Regions from separate parts of the Homo sapiens genome. Here regions 1, 3, 4 and 5 are each linked to region 2. The links are contacts of gene promoters, found by promoter capture Hi-C in blood cells and fetal thymus (Javierre and others, 2016). All regions are on one chromosome and are shown on one strand. The core of a region is centred on a gene start or on the middle of the fragment in contact, and the rest is flanking DNA. Distances in the headings are between cores, read along the strand shown. Region 1 has its middle 110 kb from the start of ARHGAP24. Region 2 holds the start of ARHGAP24 (Rho GTPase activating protein 24). Region 3 has its middle 82 kb from the start of ARHGAP24. Region 4 overlaps ARHGAP24 (Rho GTPase activating protein 24). Region 5 overlaps ARHGAP24 (Rho GTPase activating protein 24).

What was found. Contacts are between HindIII fragments. The CHiCAGO score rates a contact against its expected background, and 5 or more counts as called.
Region 1: a fragment that was not itself captured here is called in contact with the fragment with the promoter of ARHGAP24 in region 2 in 2 of 17 cell types (total B cells and naive B cells); the score reaches 11.8 in total B cells.
Region 3: a fragment that was not itself captured here is called in contact with the fragment with the promoter of ARHGAP24 in region 2 in 2 of 17 cell types (total B cells and naive B cells); the score reaches 11.0 in total B cells.
Region 4: a contact is called between a fragment that was not itself captured here and the fragment with the promoter of ARHGAP24 in region 2, in 2 of 17 cell types (total B cells and naive B cells). The highest score is 13.5, in total B cells.
Region 5: a contact is called between a fragment that was not itself captured here and the fragment with the promoter of ARHGAP24 in region 2, in 1 of 17 cell types (total B cells). The highest score is 8.8, in total B cells.

What each region holds. Positions count from the first base shown.
Region 1 is chr4:85,359,489-85,362,188 of GRCh38, forward strand. No RefSeq gene overlaps it. Among named protein-coding and RNA genes, the nearest start is that of ARHGAP24, 110 kb to the right of the region's middle. The HindIII fragment of the contact is 651 bases long and covers 993-1,643 here.
Region 2 is chr4:85,473,837-85,476,536 of GRCh38, forward strand. ARHGAP24 (Rho GTPase activating protein 24) reads left to right here and starts at 1,314. Exons shown (of 10, transcript NM_001025616.3): 1 at 1,314-1,723. The HindIII fragment of the contact is 5,990 bases long and covers 604-2,700 here.
Region 3 is chr4:85,391,934-85,394,633 of GRCh38, forward strand. No RefSeq gene overlaps it. Among named protein-coding and RNA genes, the nearest start is that of ARHGAP24, 82 kb to the right of the region's middle. The HindIII fragment of the contact is 3,863 bases long and covers 1-2,700 here.
Region 4 is chr4:85,566,779-85,569,478 of GRCh38, forward strand. All of the region lies in intron 1 of ARHGAP24 (Rho GTPase activating protein 24), which reads left to right. Among named protein-coding and RNA genes, the nearest start is that of ARHGAP24, 93 kb to the left of the region's middle. The HindIII fragment of the contact is 2,912 bases long and covers 1-2,700 here.
Region 5 is chr4:85,547,424-85,550,123 of GRCh38, forward strand. All of the region lies in intron 1 of ARHGAP24 (Rho GTPase activating protein 24), which reads left to right. Among named protein-coding and RNA genes, the nearest start is that of ARHGAP24, 74 kb to the left of the region's middle. The HindIII fragment of the contact is 8,939 bases long and covers 1-2,700 here.

The DNA.
Region 1 (2,700 bases), core at 68-2,567, 110 kb before region 2:
CATTATATATTTTATTTCATGTAAACCTTCTAAAGACTCTATGAAGTAGCTGCTATCATTACTATTATGTCTGTTTTACTTAACCTCTTTTATGCCTCAGTTTCCACTGAAGCAGATTTGTGATTGGTGGCCATTACATTTCTCAGCTACAATAAAACAAAACATAAAAATGTTGTGTATTATTTGCATGTTGTTTCAATTGTTTTGCCTCTACTTAACTTCATTCATTACCTATTAATAAACATTACACTAAATATAGACTTTATTCAGAGGTTTTGTGAAGGACCTAACCTAATAAGAGAAAAACAGTAAACTTGAAGAAACAAGACTTTTGTAATGTAGGAACAAGTTACTCAATAGGCATATGTGTAGTTCTTCCATTATATAATATTCATCATCATTCCATGGTTTTGATGACCACATGGAGAATATTCTCCCCAGAATAAACATCTTGTTATTCATTAAAGACTTCTTCCATCCTCTTACATTTCAGTTCCGTCACATTTTCTTTTAAATGAAATTTTATTACTTGGTATTGGATAAAAAAGAGTATTACCTGTAAATTTTATACAATTTTTCTTAATTTAATTTCTAAAATTTATTTAAAATGTCATGAAACTTTATTGAAAATTTTTACTAACTTTCAGCAAAATCATTAAAACCTGGAAAAGAAAAATGCTTCTGCTGTTAAAGCTCCTGCTGCTTCTTTTATTTTAAAAATTCAGACACCATTTTCTCTCTATAGTATTTTGTTGAAGAGTGGCTTTTAGAGTCCAGCTACCTTCATTTTACCTTGATTCACTTCTATTGGCTTCTAGAGCACAGTGCCTTATGACCCAGAATTCTTCTTCCCCTTGATTTTGGGCAAATGGCTTTCTTAATATATAATTATTAGATTTTTTTATTGACCACTAACGTTTGATGAATGCTATAGGCAAATTTAACCCAAACTGATTTAAAAAAAAGCAAGCTTAATTTTCTCGCTTCAAATAAGCTTTGTTTAACTGCAGTATTAGAAGATTTTTTTAAAGTACAGGCATATCTTGAAGATATTCAGGTTCAGTTCTAGACCACTGCAATAAAGTGAATTACAATAAAACCAGTCAAATAAATTTTTTGGTTTCTTGGTGCACATAAAAGCAATGTTTACATTATGCTGTAGTCTAGTAAGTGTGCAATAGCATTATGTCTAAATAATGTTCATACCTTAATTTAAAAATACTTCATTGATAAAAATGCTAATGATCATCTGAGCCTTCAGTGAGTCATAATCTTTTTACTGATGGAGGAGCTTCCTGCAATGTTGATGGCTGCTGACTGAGCAGGGTGGTGGTGGAAGGTTGGAGTGGCTGTGGCAATTTCTTACAATAAGATAACAATAATATTTGCAACACTGATTTGACTCTTACACAAAAGATTTCACTGAGGCATGAGTTGCTGCTTTATTCACATTGAAACTTCTTTCAAAATTAGTCAATCTTCTCAAACCCTTGTGGCTACTTCATTTATCAACCATGCTTATGTAATATTCTAAATCCTTTGTTGTCATTTCACCAATGTTTGTAGCATCTTTACCAGCAGTAGATTCCATCTCAAGAAACCACTCTTTGCTCATCCATAAGAAGCAACTTCTCATCCATTCAAGCTTTATGAGCTTGTAGAAATTTGCCACATCTTCAGGCTTTATTTCCAATTCTAGTTTTCTTGCCATTTTGACCATATCTGTGGTGACTTTCTACACTGAATCTTTAAACCCTCAAAGTTATCCATTAGAGTTGGAATTGATTCCTTCCAATTTCCTGTTAATGCTGATATTTTGACCTCCTCCCATGATTCATGAATGTTTAATGGCATCTCAAATGGTGAATATTTTTTAGAAGGTTTTCAATTTACTTTGGCTAGATTCATGAGAGGAATCACTATCTATGGCATCTATAACTTTAAAAATGTGTTTCTTAAATAATAAGACTTGAAAGTCAAAATTACTCCTTGATCCATGGGCTACAGATTAGATATTGTGTTAGCAGGCATGAAAATAGCATCAATATTCTTGTACCTTTCCATCACAGATTGTGGGATACAGGGTGCATTTTCCATGAGCAGTCATATTTTGAAAGGATTCTTTCTTCTGAGCAGTAGATCTCAACACTGGGCTTAAAATATTCAGAAAATCATATTGTAAACAGACATGCTGTCATCCAGATTTATTGTTGCATTTCTAGAGCATCGGCAGAGTACATTTAGCATAATTCTTAAGGGTTCTAGAATTTTCAGAATGGTAAATGAGCATTGGCTTCAACTTGAAGTCACCAGCTGCATTATCCAGTCCTTTGAAACCAGACGCAGACTTCTCCTCTGTAGCTACGGTAGTCCCAGATGGCATCTTCCAATGGAAGGCTGTTTCACCTACATTGAAAATCTGTTGTGTAGTGTAGCTACCTTCATCAATGATTGCACTGTATCTTTTGGATAACTCAGACGCAGCTTATCCATGAGCATTTGTTGCTTCATCTTGCACTTTTATGTTTGGAGATAACTTGTTTCTTTAAACCTCATAAACCAACCTTTCTAACTTTCAACTTTTCTTCTGCAGCTTCCTCACCTCTCTCAGCCATCACAGAATTGAACAGAATTAGGGCCTCATTGTGAATTAGGCTTTGATTTAAAAGAATATTGTGGCTAGTTTGATCTTCCATTCAG
Region 2 (2,700 bases), core at 64-2,563:
ATTCTCCCACCAGAAAATCAAGTTTATAGTAGGACCTCAGCATGGGATGGGGTAGATTCGTTTCTCCAAGAACTTGGAGAAAGAGGACAAAAAGGAAAAACATATCAGTGTCCACTCAGCCTTTTATTTTTGGTGTTTCTAAAACTAAACATTTGCTCTTCTTCCATATCCCTCTCTCACTGGAGATCCCTAGTGAGGACACCCCCATTCTGTGTCTTAAGGATATCTGGTGATGATTTCTAAAAGAGAGTTTCTTTTATTAGTAGTAGCAGTAGTAATTGTTCGAGACGGGGGTGTCACTCCGTCACCTAGGCTGGAGTGCGCTGGCACAATTATAGCTCACTGCAGCCTTGACCTCCTGGGCTCAAGGGATTTTCCCGCTTCAGCCTCCTGAGTAGCTGGGACTACAGACATACGCCGCCACGCCCAACTTTTTTTTTATTTTTTTAATTTTTTTTTTATAGAGACAGGAGTCTCATTATGTTGCCAATTTTGGTCTGAAACCCCTGGGCTCAAGCGATCCTCCTGCCTCAGCCTTCCAAAGTGCTAGGATTGCATGACTGATCCACTGTAAGTGGGTTTCTAAAACAGAGATCTTTACAAAGCTTTTTGAAATAATTTGACTCAGCATGCCAGGTAACCAGAACTGTAAGATCACAATTTGAAACAGACATTGTGGTGATGGTGGGAAGAGACGGCCTGCATCAAAACAATGTTTACTAGTTTGTCCTTTTGTCCCATATTGTGTAACTCCGAGAGTTCTTACACCACCGTAAGAAAGTAATTATACTTTGAATTTCTCTAAGGCTCTAGTTAGAGAGCATCCATCTAAATGTGCATTTCCAGGAATATTGCTTTAATGGCCCAGGTAATTCTAATTGGAGAAATAAAATGTTAGCGAGACAGAGTTGGTAGAAGCAAGTAAAACCGGTGTATGGGGTTTGGCCAATGAAATGCAGAGCTCCTTGAGGGCAGGAGACATGTATTCACCAACCTTCTCGCGCCCACAGCCCCAGATCTGTGGCCAACAAGTATCTATGATGCACTTGAAAGGAACGAGCGATGCCAGATGCGGAGGAACCAGGCAGGGCGCATTCTGTCAGTGGCGCCAGGCGGTGTAGCTCCAGCTCTCAGATAACCCAGGCTTTGGGAGGGCGGGGCTCCTGCCGGCCTCCCCTGTAGTGCGGCTCGAGTCCTGTGAAGCTACCAGTTGCCAAATGAAATCTGAAACCTCGAGCTGTGTCTGAGGGTTGGCCCCACTCAGTTGTTCCAGCCTCTTGTACTGTATATTTACACATTCACACACAATCACCCTTTCTAACTTCTGGGACTCTTTGCGCAACTGCTAGGATTTCTCAAGTGCATGTGGCAACACAGCCCAGCTCCGGGTGGAAACCAGCAGGGCTCTGGAGGGGCTCGGAGACCAGGGGAGCTGTCAAGGCTGCGGCGGGGACCAGAGAGGAGCCTGGCGGGGGTGGCTGGGTGGCTGGGGGAATCCCCCCAACTTCCCATCGCAGGCGCAGCTCTCTCGGCCGCCTATTTCCTCCGAAACCCGCGCTGCGGAGCAGCCCAGTGCATAGAGTTCAACACTTCCCCTTGTTGTGGAAAGTAAAGGAGCCTCACTACCACCTTTTTTTCTTTGCGTTTTCTTACTGCTGGTCCTGGGAGCCTTTTCCTTCGGAGCAGCAGCCCTGTCCGGCATCTGTCTTGAGCTCCCAGCAAGGTAGGTGATGCGGTCGCGAGGAAGTGCGCGGAGCTACCGCGGGAAGGACGGACGCGGCTGCCTGCGCCAGGGGAGGGGGCTGCGGGGGGCGGGGAGGGGGCTGCGGGGGGCGGGGAGGGGGCTGCGGGGGGCGGGGAGGGGGCTGCGGGGGGCGGGGAGGGGGCTGCGGGGGGCGGGGAGGGATCGCAGGAATCCCGTGCTGATGTAGCCTGTCTGTGTTTGTGTGTGTGTGTGCGCGCGCGCGCATGTTTGTGCCGGGAGACAGCAAGCTGGTAGTATGTCTTTCTGGCTTTAAAAATAGATGGAATTAATAAAAACCCTTTGTACAATTCAATTTCCTCTCTTGGTATCCATCCTCCCCTTCCCCTTGTTTGTTTCCTCTAGTATCTTATAGGAGTTCCCTATGTAACAGGCGCACAAAGATAGGTTTTAATAATAAGCATATATATTTGCAAAAATATATATTTTATATGTATAAAATATGTTTTAAAATATTTATAAATATATTACATATTAGAAATATATATTATAAAATATATACATATATTTGTAAACACAAAACGTTAGGGAATCTTTGGTGAATTTGAAGCCACTCAAAAGATTTTGTCCAAATGTTTTTAAAAATAACATTTAATGATAAACATGTAATATGGTCTCGTTTTTAGAAAATACTTAAGACTACATTTATTTTATACGTACCCAAATAGAAGGGAGACAATGTTACTCTGAATTCCTTAGATAGATTTTCAGCATCAACCAGTAATAGGGAGCCCAGACTTCTTTGTAGACTATATCTCGTTTAATTCATTTGAATTAAACAAGTAATTTCTCCAAGTAATTTCTGTTTCCAGCACATTTTATGTTACTCTTTTTTTAACCTTCCACGGCATCATTGTTTCATCTCTTTCTAAAAAGGAAATAAATAAATCGTGCTGAGTATTTGGAATATAAAAGTTGTTAAGGCTTTGCTTATACAT
Region 3 (2,700 bases), core at 120-2,619, 82 kb before region 2:
ACCCCTTTTTTTCAGGCCTGGACCACTTACAAAGTAGGCTGACAAATGGATCCATATGGGTGAACATGTGTCAGAACTTTCCAGGAGTGCTGGGACTGGAGGTGACCTCCCCACTTGGGAATTGTACATGGTTTGGATCTAATGTGTATGTTTTAAAAAATTGGATGAATGCTTAACCTATACTTAAGGAGGAAACTTAGCACAGAAAAAATAGGTGATTTAGACGTTTTTATCAAGACAGTAGAAATGAAGGACTTCTGGTTTCTAGTTCTGACTCATAGTGTCCTCTGAGCTGTCATTTTTAACCCACAATGTTTCTGCATCCCCTCTGTCTTTTGCAGACTTTCAACCTTCAAGAGTCACACTTTAATTTATATTGTTTGTGTTGTAAAAATAATAAGTATATTAAACACATGTAAAATACATACACATTCCTCTCCTTCTCGCCAATATTTATATATGCACAGAGGAATTTTCTTCACCATGGCTTTGCTCTGACTGTATGAGAATCAACATCCAAGTGTAAGAGATCTGTTTATATAGTCAGACATATCACTTAAATCTGATTTAATTTGGGAAAACATATCTATTTATAGATAGATATCTATTTATATCTATTTATAGATATCTATTTATATCTATTTATAGATAGATTTCTATTTATAGATATCTGTTTTCTCTGGGTATGCTAGTTTCCTCCTACACCTTCAGAAATGGGCATGTTTGGTTAATTGCTGTGTCTAAATGGTCCAGTCTGAGCAACTGTGAGTGTGTGTGTGAGTACACCCTGTGATGGGATTAAATAATGTAGTTTAATGGTTAATGATAATAATACTAATTAATAATAATAATGACATTGGCTGACACAGAATGCTATGTTACAGGTGCTAATGAATTGTAACATTTTATGTTGTCAATAATCTTTCATAACAGGTTTTTGTTTTGAGTTTTGCATAGATCAGGTAACTAGAGCCCAAACAGGTTATCTTTCTTAAGGTCACACAGCTAATGAGAGAGAAGCTAGTATTAGAAGCCTGCTTTGCTTAACTTCAAATCCAAAGTCTTTATTATTTTCATTGCATTATGCTGCCTTCTTGGCTAGGACCTACCTAGGCACAATGGGGAGGAATATAGCATTTTTATTTCAAAGATAAAGGTTAAGTTTTCAGTACAATAATTTTTTTCTTCATTTGTACATTCATATCTTTTAAATCTCCCTCCCTTCTACCACAGGTATCTAGTTCCTTCATGCTACCACAGGCCCTGCCACGTATAAAGTTATTAATTGGTTATTTTAAAGATGGAAACATTTATGACAATTTTATAAGAATATAGGGAATGGGCAAGGCTTATGCAAATCAGTGAAGTGTAAGTTACAGAATTTTCATTATCGCTTTAGGTTTTAGGGGAACTGGATATTTGCATGAAACTGAAACACTCTAAATATTATCTCTTGACTAATTCCCTTCATGCAAGGATGACTGTGAGGGCGTGGGCTCACCTGGAAAGCTGAAGCTAAACTATCATTCCTCACCACACCCACACACCCACTACCCCAATATCAGGCTGAAGATTTGCTGAATCTGATTTCAGTTCAAATCCCAGAAAGTCCTATGCTTGTAAGCATTTCTATAGAGTACAAAGCATTGGTTTTTATTGCAAGTGCTTCTAAAAAGGTGATGTGAGTCAGAAGAATAAAAGGATGGTTGCACTGTAAGAATTAAGTGTTCTGGATGCAGTGAGACCATTCTTTGCATAAATATGACATTTACAGCTTGTGTTTCCTATTAGGCCTTCTCATAGCTAGGCTTTCTCACAGCTTTGCTTTTTTTAAAAAGCAAAGTTGAGGCTACTTTGCTTTTTAAACATACTTTGTATTCTTAGATAACTGGTTCCAGAACATAATCTAGTCTTATGGACTATGTGTGTGCGTGTGCATATGTGTTTGTGTGATACATGTGTTTGTATGTGTATATGCGTGTGTATATATACGTATATGTCTCAGGGATAGGGCTTTTCCTCAGCCTGCCAGATATGTTACAATGTGTAAAGCTGACATGCTATTATTCAGTGATGAAACAGTATGAATATTTTGTATGGGCTTTTACACCATTTAAGTAAAATATTTTGTGTCTTTCAAAAAATTTTGAATTTATTTCAGAGTGAGAACTGGTAAAAAGTTGGAAATGGCCAACCGTGTCTTTTACACTAGACAGTGCCTCTCATTAGCATGGCTCCCAAATAAGTCATTATCTAAGAAGTCCGTATTATTAAACAAAGTAGAAGTGTATGTCAACAATTGTCAAGAGTTTGAGATTTTATTCTACTGGCAACCTGACAAGTTATCATGCCACAGTTTTATTGATGCCCTAAGTTGTCTCGGGTTGCTATAACAAAATATCATAAACCAGGTGGCTTAAACAACAGAAATTTATCACAGTTCTAAAGGCCGGGAAGTCCAAGATCACAGTACCAGTAGATTCAGTTCCTAGTGAGGGCCCACTTCTTGGTTTGCAGTTTGATGTCTCCTTGCTATACCTTCACATGGTAGGGAGAGAAGGAGCTCTGGTCTCTTTGTCCCCTTATATGGAAACTGTCTTAGTCTGTTTTCAGCTGCTATAACAGAATACCACAGATCGGGTAATTTATAATAAACAGAAATTTATTGGCTCATGGTTCTGGAGTCTGGGAAGTCCAAGG
Region 4 (2,700 bases), core at 142-2,641, 93 kb after region 2:
GTCAGGGAGACAAAGGACACAGTTCAGCGATAGAGAATAGAAAGAGGTTACCTGATTCACAGGGTGATTAGTGAAGGTTTTTGGAGGAGACAGATTTTAAGCCAAAACTTAGATAAAAAGGAGTTGAGCATGAAAAGAGCCCAAGACAGAGTTTTCTAGGCAGAAATCAGCAAGGGATAAAGGAGCTTGGCTGTTTCCAGAACTGAAAGGAGACAAGAGTGGTTAAGTATGTATGTGTATGGTATGGGGAGGGATGGGGAGAAGGTGGCATGAGATTAGGTTAGAGAGGTAAAGAGGTGCCAGATGATTCAGAGCCTTATAGGCCATGGTAAGACTCTGGATTTTGAAATAAGTACAGTGGGAAGCCAACAACATTTTCAGATGTTGAGAATCCTTATCTGATTTGAATCTTTAAAAGCTCGCTTTGGCTGCATTTTAGAGAATGAAATATGTGTGAGCATGTACCTGTGTGTTTGTGTTTATGGCTAAAAATGGAAGCAGTGAGACTCCTTGGAAGGCTATTAGAATCATCTCCTCAAAAGATAATAGTGGACTGCACCATAAGGTGGCAATAGAGATGAAGCCAAAAGGATGGATTTGAACTATTTTTTAGAGGTATTCTGAATTTACTGATTGATTTGATATCCGGGGTGAGGAAGAGTTATGAATCAAATGATCAGTTTTCTGTATATTTTTCTTTGCAACTGGGTGTATCATGGTGTCATTTACTAAGATCAGGTTTGGGGGAAGATCATGTTTCAAAGGGAGATCGTGTTCACTTTTAGACACTTAGTATGAAACCTATTGCAAAATTGATTACTTCATCAAACATTGATTGAGCTTCACTGCATGCCAGACATCGTACTGAGTAGTAAGGGTATCTGATGTCCCTACACTTATGGAATTACAGAGATGATAGATTTCAGAGTGCTAGAAGAGACCATAGTTGGAAATAATCCAGCCCAGCATCCTCATTTTAAAGATGAAGTGTAGAATTTTAATCATTTTATTTCTCCAGAAATATTAAGACTTCTCTATAAAAATTATGGTTGTTTTAGTAAAACTTAATTTTCCTCATCTAACAATAGTTGTGGCATTTTTTCCCTTAGGCATATAAGTCTGTTTTCATTTCTGTTTTAATGAATTGTTACAATTAGTCTTCAATTAGCATTAGTAAAGCACTTTCCGATGCATTCTGAAATCATAAAAATATAGGCATTATAGTCAGTTCAGTGGGCAATTTGTCATTGACTTCGGTCAGACTTATAAACAACATATGCAAAAGGAATCAGAAACCATGTTCTAGTGTACACACATTTCTCACTAAGGCATTAATGTACACAAAAGGGGAAATATCTACTTGTATTTTTTATATTATCAATGGTAGGTTGCTAATAACCTTGAAGCATTTTAGAGGGAATTTTTCAAACTTCATAGAAAGCATGAATTTGAGAGGAAAGAAAAAATTACCTAAGGGCCCTAAGTAATTTGTTGTGCAATGAATTCTAGATTTGTGTGTGCATGTTTGTTGCGGGGGGGAGGGGGGCGTGTGTGTGTGGTGGAATGTTTGTTTTAAGGTCCCATTTAACTTTATAAATTAAGGTGTTTGGTCAAAGAATAAATAGGCAGTGATGAAACAGCAAGTTGTGTAGATTTAAGCAGTTTAAATACCAGGAGATGAAAAAGATTATTTAGGGTGGTCTAGCTAAGCATACTTATTATCTAAATTACCTTACAGCATTAATTGTTCAGTTAGAGTGGAGTTCTTGGCTCATCATAGTAGGTCGGGTACTGCGAAAGAAAGGAGATGAAAGTTCCTGCTCTGCAGGGCATAGCAAATTGGAGGCATCAGGCATGGTCCAGTCTGCAGACACACGGGCACACACCTGAGGGGAGAGTGTTTTCTGCAATAAGTGGTTATGGTCATGGAATGCCCCATAGAGCAAAGGAAGTGTCCAGACGTATTGTAGAGACAGGGGCCTGTTTTTTAAGAAAGGAAAGAAGTGCGTATTGAATGAGACAGAAAATAGTCAAGTGACCTCCTTGAAGTTTAAAAGTAGTTTAAGAGGTGAAGATTAAGGCAAGGATAGTGATAGATTGAAATATATGCCAGTGAAGGAGGCAAATCTTCTGCAAAGATGGTTGAAGTTATTAAAATAAGAAGTAATTAGAACGAAAGTTCTGCTTCATCCCTGCAACAGGAATGGCAGGACTAAATTGAGAGAACTTGAAGTGCAATTATGGAAGATTTGACCCTGAGCCTTCAAGGAAGAAACAAAAATGACCAAGGGCTGACAATAGAAACTTCATGGAATTTATAAGTAGAATTGTATACATGCAAATTGATTAAAAAATAGTGATGAATATAAAGACCAGACAGAAAGACAGCTTGTCTTCCAGAATTGATCAGAAATGATAAAACAGGGACTTTGTTTATATGCCTGGACAGGAATAATCTACGTTTTATCAGATAATATATGCCTGGACAGGAATAATCTACGTTTTATCAGATAATCAATATCTTTATAACCTCATCAAAGACACAAGAGTTAGAGAGGGCTTCCCAATTCCTGAATAAATGTTTAGAAATAAACATTAGCAAGAATTTGGAAGAAGATTTTGGGACAGGAAAATCTCTTTTAACCACTTGTCCCTGGCTCCCCCAGAATGTCCACCTTCTCTGTTCTTACTGGGGCAGTT
Region 5 (2,700 bases), core at 123-2,622, 74 kb after region 2:
TTCAATACTGGCAATGTAATTTTTTTTTTTCAGACAGAATCTCTCTCTGTCACCTGGACTGGAGAGTAGTGGTGCGATCACAGGTCACTGTAGTCTCGACCTCCCAGGATCAGATGATTTTCCCACCTCAGCCTCTTGAGTAGCTGAGACTACAGTCACGCACCACCATGCCCAGCTAAATTTTGTAATTTTGTGGAGATGGGTTTTCATTATGTTGCCCCAGGCTGGTCTCAAACACCTGAGCTCAAGCAATCCGCCCACCTCAGCCTCCCGAAGTGCTGGGTTTACAGGCTTGAGCCACTGTGCCTGGCTGGCAATGTAAACTTTGATCACTGTGTCTGCCAGGTTTCTCCACAGTAAAACGAGTGTTTCACCCTTGCTAAATAATAATTAATTTGTAAGAAGAAACTTTGACACTATTTAAATATCTTTTTTCTGTCAAACTTCTACCTACTAGTTTTTGCATCCATTGTTAATTTGTAATTCCATTATTCCTTTCAAATTGAATAATTGACATTCTGCTGAAAGGAAGAGCTTTCCCATGTCTCTCATTTATTTATTTGTTTATTTATGATATCAATGGGATTCATGTATTCTTGTTTTATTCTATGTCTATAATCCATTATAGCCGTAAATATTTAAATACTATTATTATTTATTCAGATGCTCAAATTTTCCCAGATTTATCCATTGAAAGCCACTTCATATTAGTTTTTGTGCCTTTTGATACCTCCCCATCATTCTTGAGGATTTCCTTACTTTCTGGCACATGTTATTCTAGGCTCATTTTGTATTTTCCTTGTCCACACCCTGGAATCAGCCTTTCATCCACACAGCTTTGCTTCCATTGAGAAGTGGATGGCATTTAGAAGTCAAGATCTGGACACTAGGTGTACTCGTTGCTACTGATATGTTAATACTTCTAGGCCCTGTCAGCCAGAAGCATTAGTGAATATATGTTGATTTTTATTTCTATATCTATGTGCCTATCGATGAAAAACCATGAGTTCATACTGATACCTCTGATTCCAGTCTCAAACTACAGGATGCATTCTGGTGTCCTAATTTTCTCATTTGTAACTCTTTTCCAAAAGTAAGAAACCTAACTTCACATTTGTTATATTCAATATATGTGTCTGTTTGCTCGACTTGGAATACAAGAAAGCAATTTCAGAATTGCTAACCTACACCACAGCCAGAAAAGCAAATCTACTAACTAGAATTCAACTTTTTAACAGCTTTTTGGAATAAAATTTACTAGAGCAAAATAATTTGTGCACAGATATCAAGTGCATAGTTCAGGAAATTAGACAAACATCTAGACCCATGTTTCTCCTGTCTCATCAAGATGTAAGACATTTCCATCACCTTAGAAAGGTCCCTTGTGCCCCTTTCCCGTCAGTATATACCCCTCAGGAGTAGCTAGTTTCCTGATTTCTATCACTATAGGCTAGTTTTGCCTCATCTAGAACTTCTATTTATGGAATCGTGCAGTGACTCTTCTGTATCTGGCTTCTTTCACTCATTATAATGACTGCTGGATTTATACATGTTGTTATATGTATATCTACAGTTTGTTTCTTTTGGTTGCTAAAAGAAACCAAGCCATGCTCTTTGTTTATCTGTTCCCTCTTGATGAGTAGCATTTGGGTTACTTCCAGTTTCTGGCTAATATAAATAAAACTACAATGAACATTTTTGTGTAAATCTTGAGAACATAAGGATTCCATTTCTCTTGGTTGAACGTCTGAATTGGAATCACTAAGTCATAGATACAGGTATATTTAATTTTATAAGAAATTGCCAAACATTTTGTTAAAGTGGTTGCACCATTTACACTTTCACCAGCAATATATGAACATTCTAGTTATTTCATATCCTCATCAACATTTGGTATTGTCAGTCTTTTTAAATTTTAGCCATTCAAATGGGCATGTAATGATACCGGATTGTGTTTATAATGTGCAATTCTCTGATATCTAATGATGCTAGGACTGTTTCATGAGATTATTGGGTATTTCTGTTTGTTCCTCTGTGAAGTGCCTATTTAAATCTTTTCTCATTTTCTTAATTAGATTGAGTTGTAGGAGTCATTTGTATATTATGGATATAAGTTTTTTTAACAGATATATGCTTTGCAAATATTTTCTGACAGTCTCTGGCTTGCCTATACACTGTTTTTCTTTTTAACTTTTATTTCAGGTTCATGTGTAAATGTGCAGGTGTGTTATATGGGTAAATTGCATGTTTCAGGAGTTTCGTGTACAGATTATTTCACTACCCCAGGTAATAAGCACAGTGCTCCACAGGTAGTTTTTTGATCCTTATGCTGCTCCCTCCCTCTACCCTCAAGTAGGCCCTGGCATCTCTCGCTCCCTTCTTTGTGCCAATGTGTACTCAATGTTTAGCTCCCACATATAAGTGAGAACATGCAGTATTTGGTTTTCTGTTCCTGTGTCAGTTCTCTTAGCATAATGGTCTCCAGCTCTATGTTGTTGCAAAGGGCATGATCTCCTTTTTTATGGCTACATAGTATTCCATGGTACATATGTACCACATTTTCTTTATCCAATCTAACATTGATTAGCACTTAGGCTGATTCCACATCTTTGCTATTGTGAATAGTACAGTGATGAACATAAATATGCATGTGTCTTTATGGTAAAATGATTTATATTCCTTTGGGTATGTACTCAATAA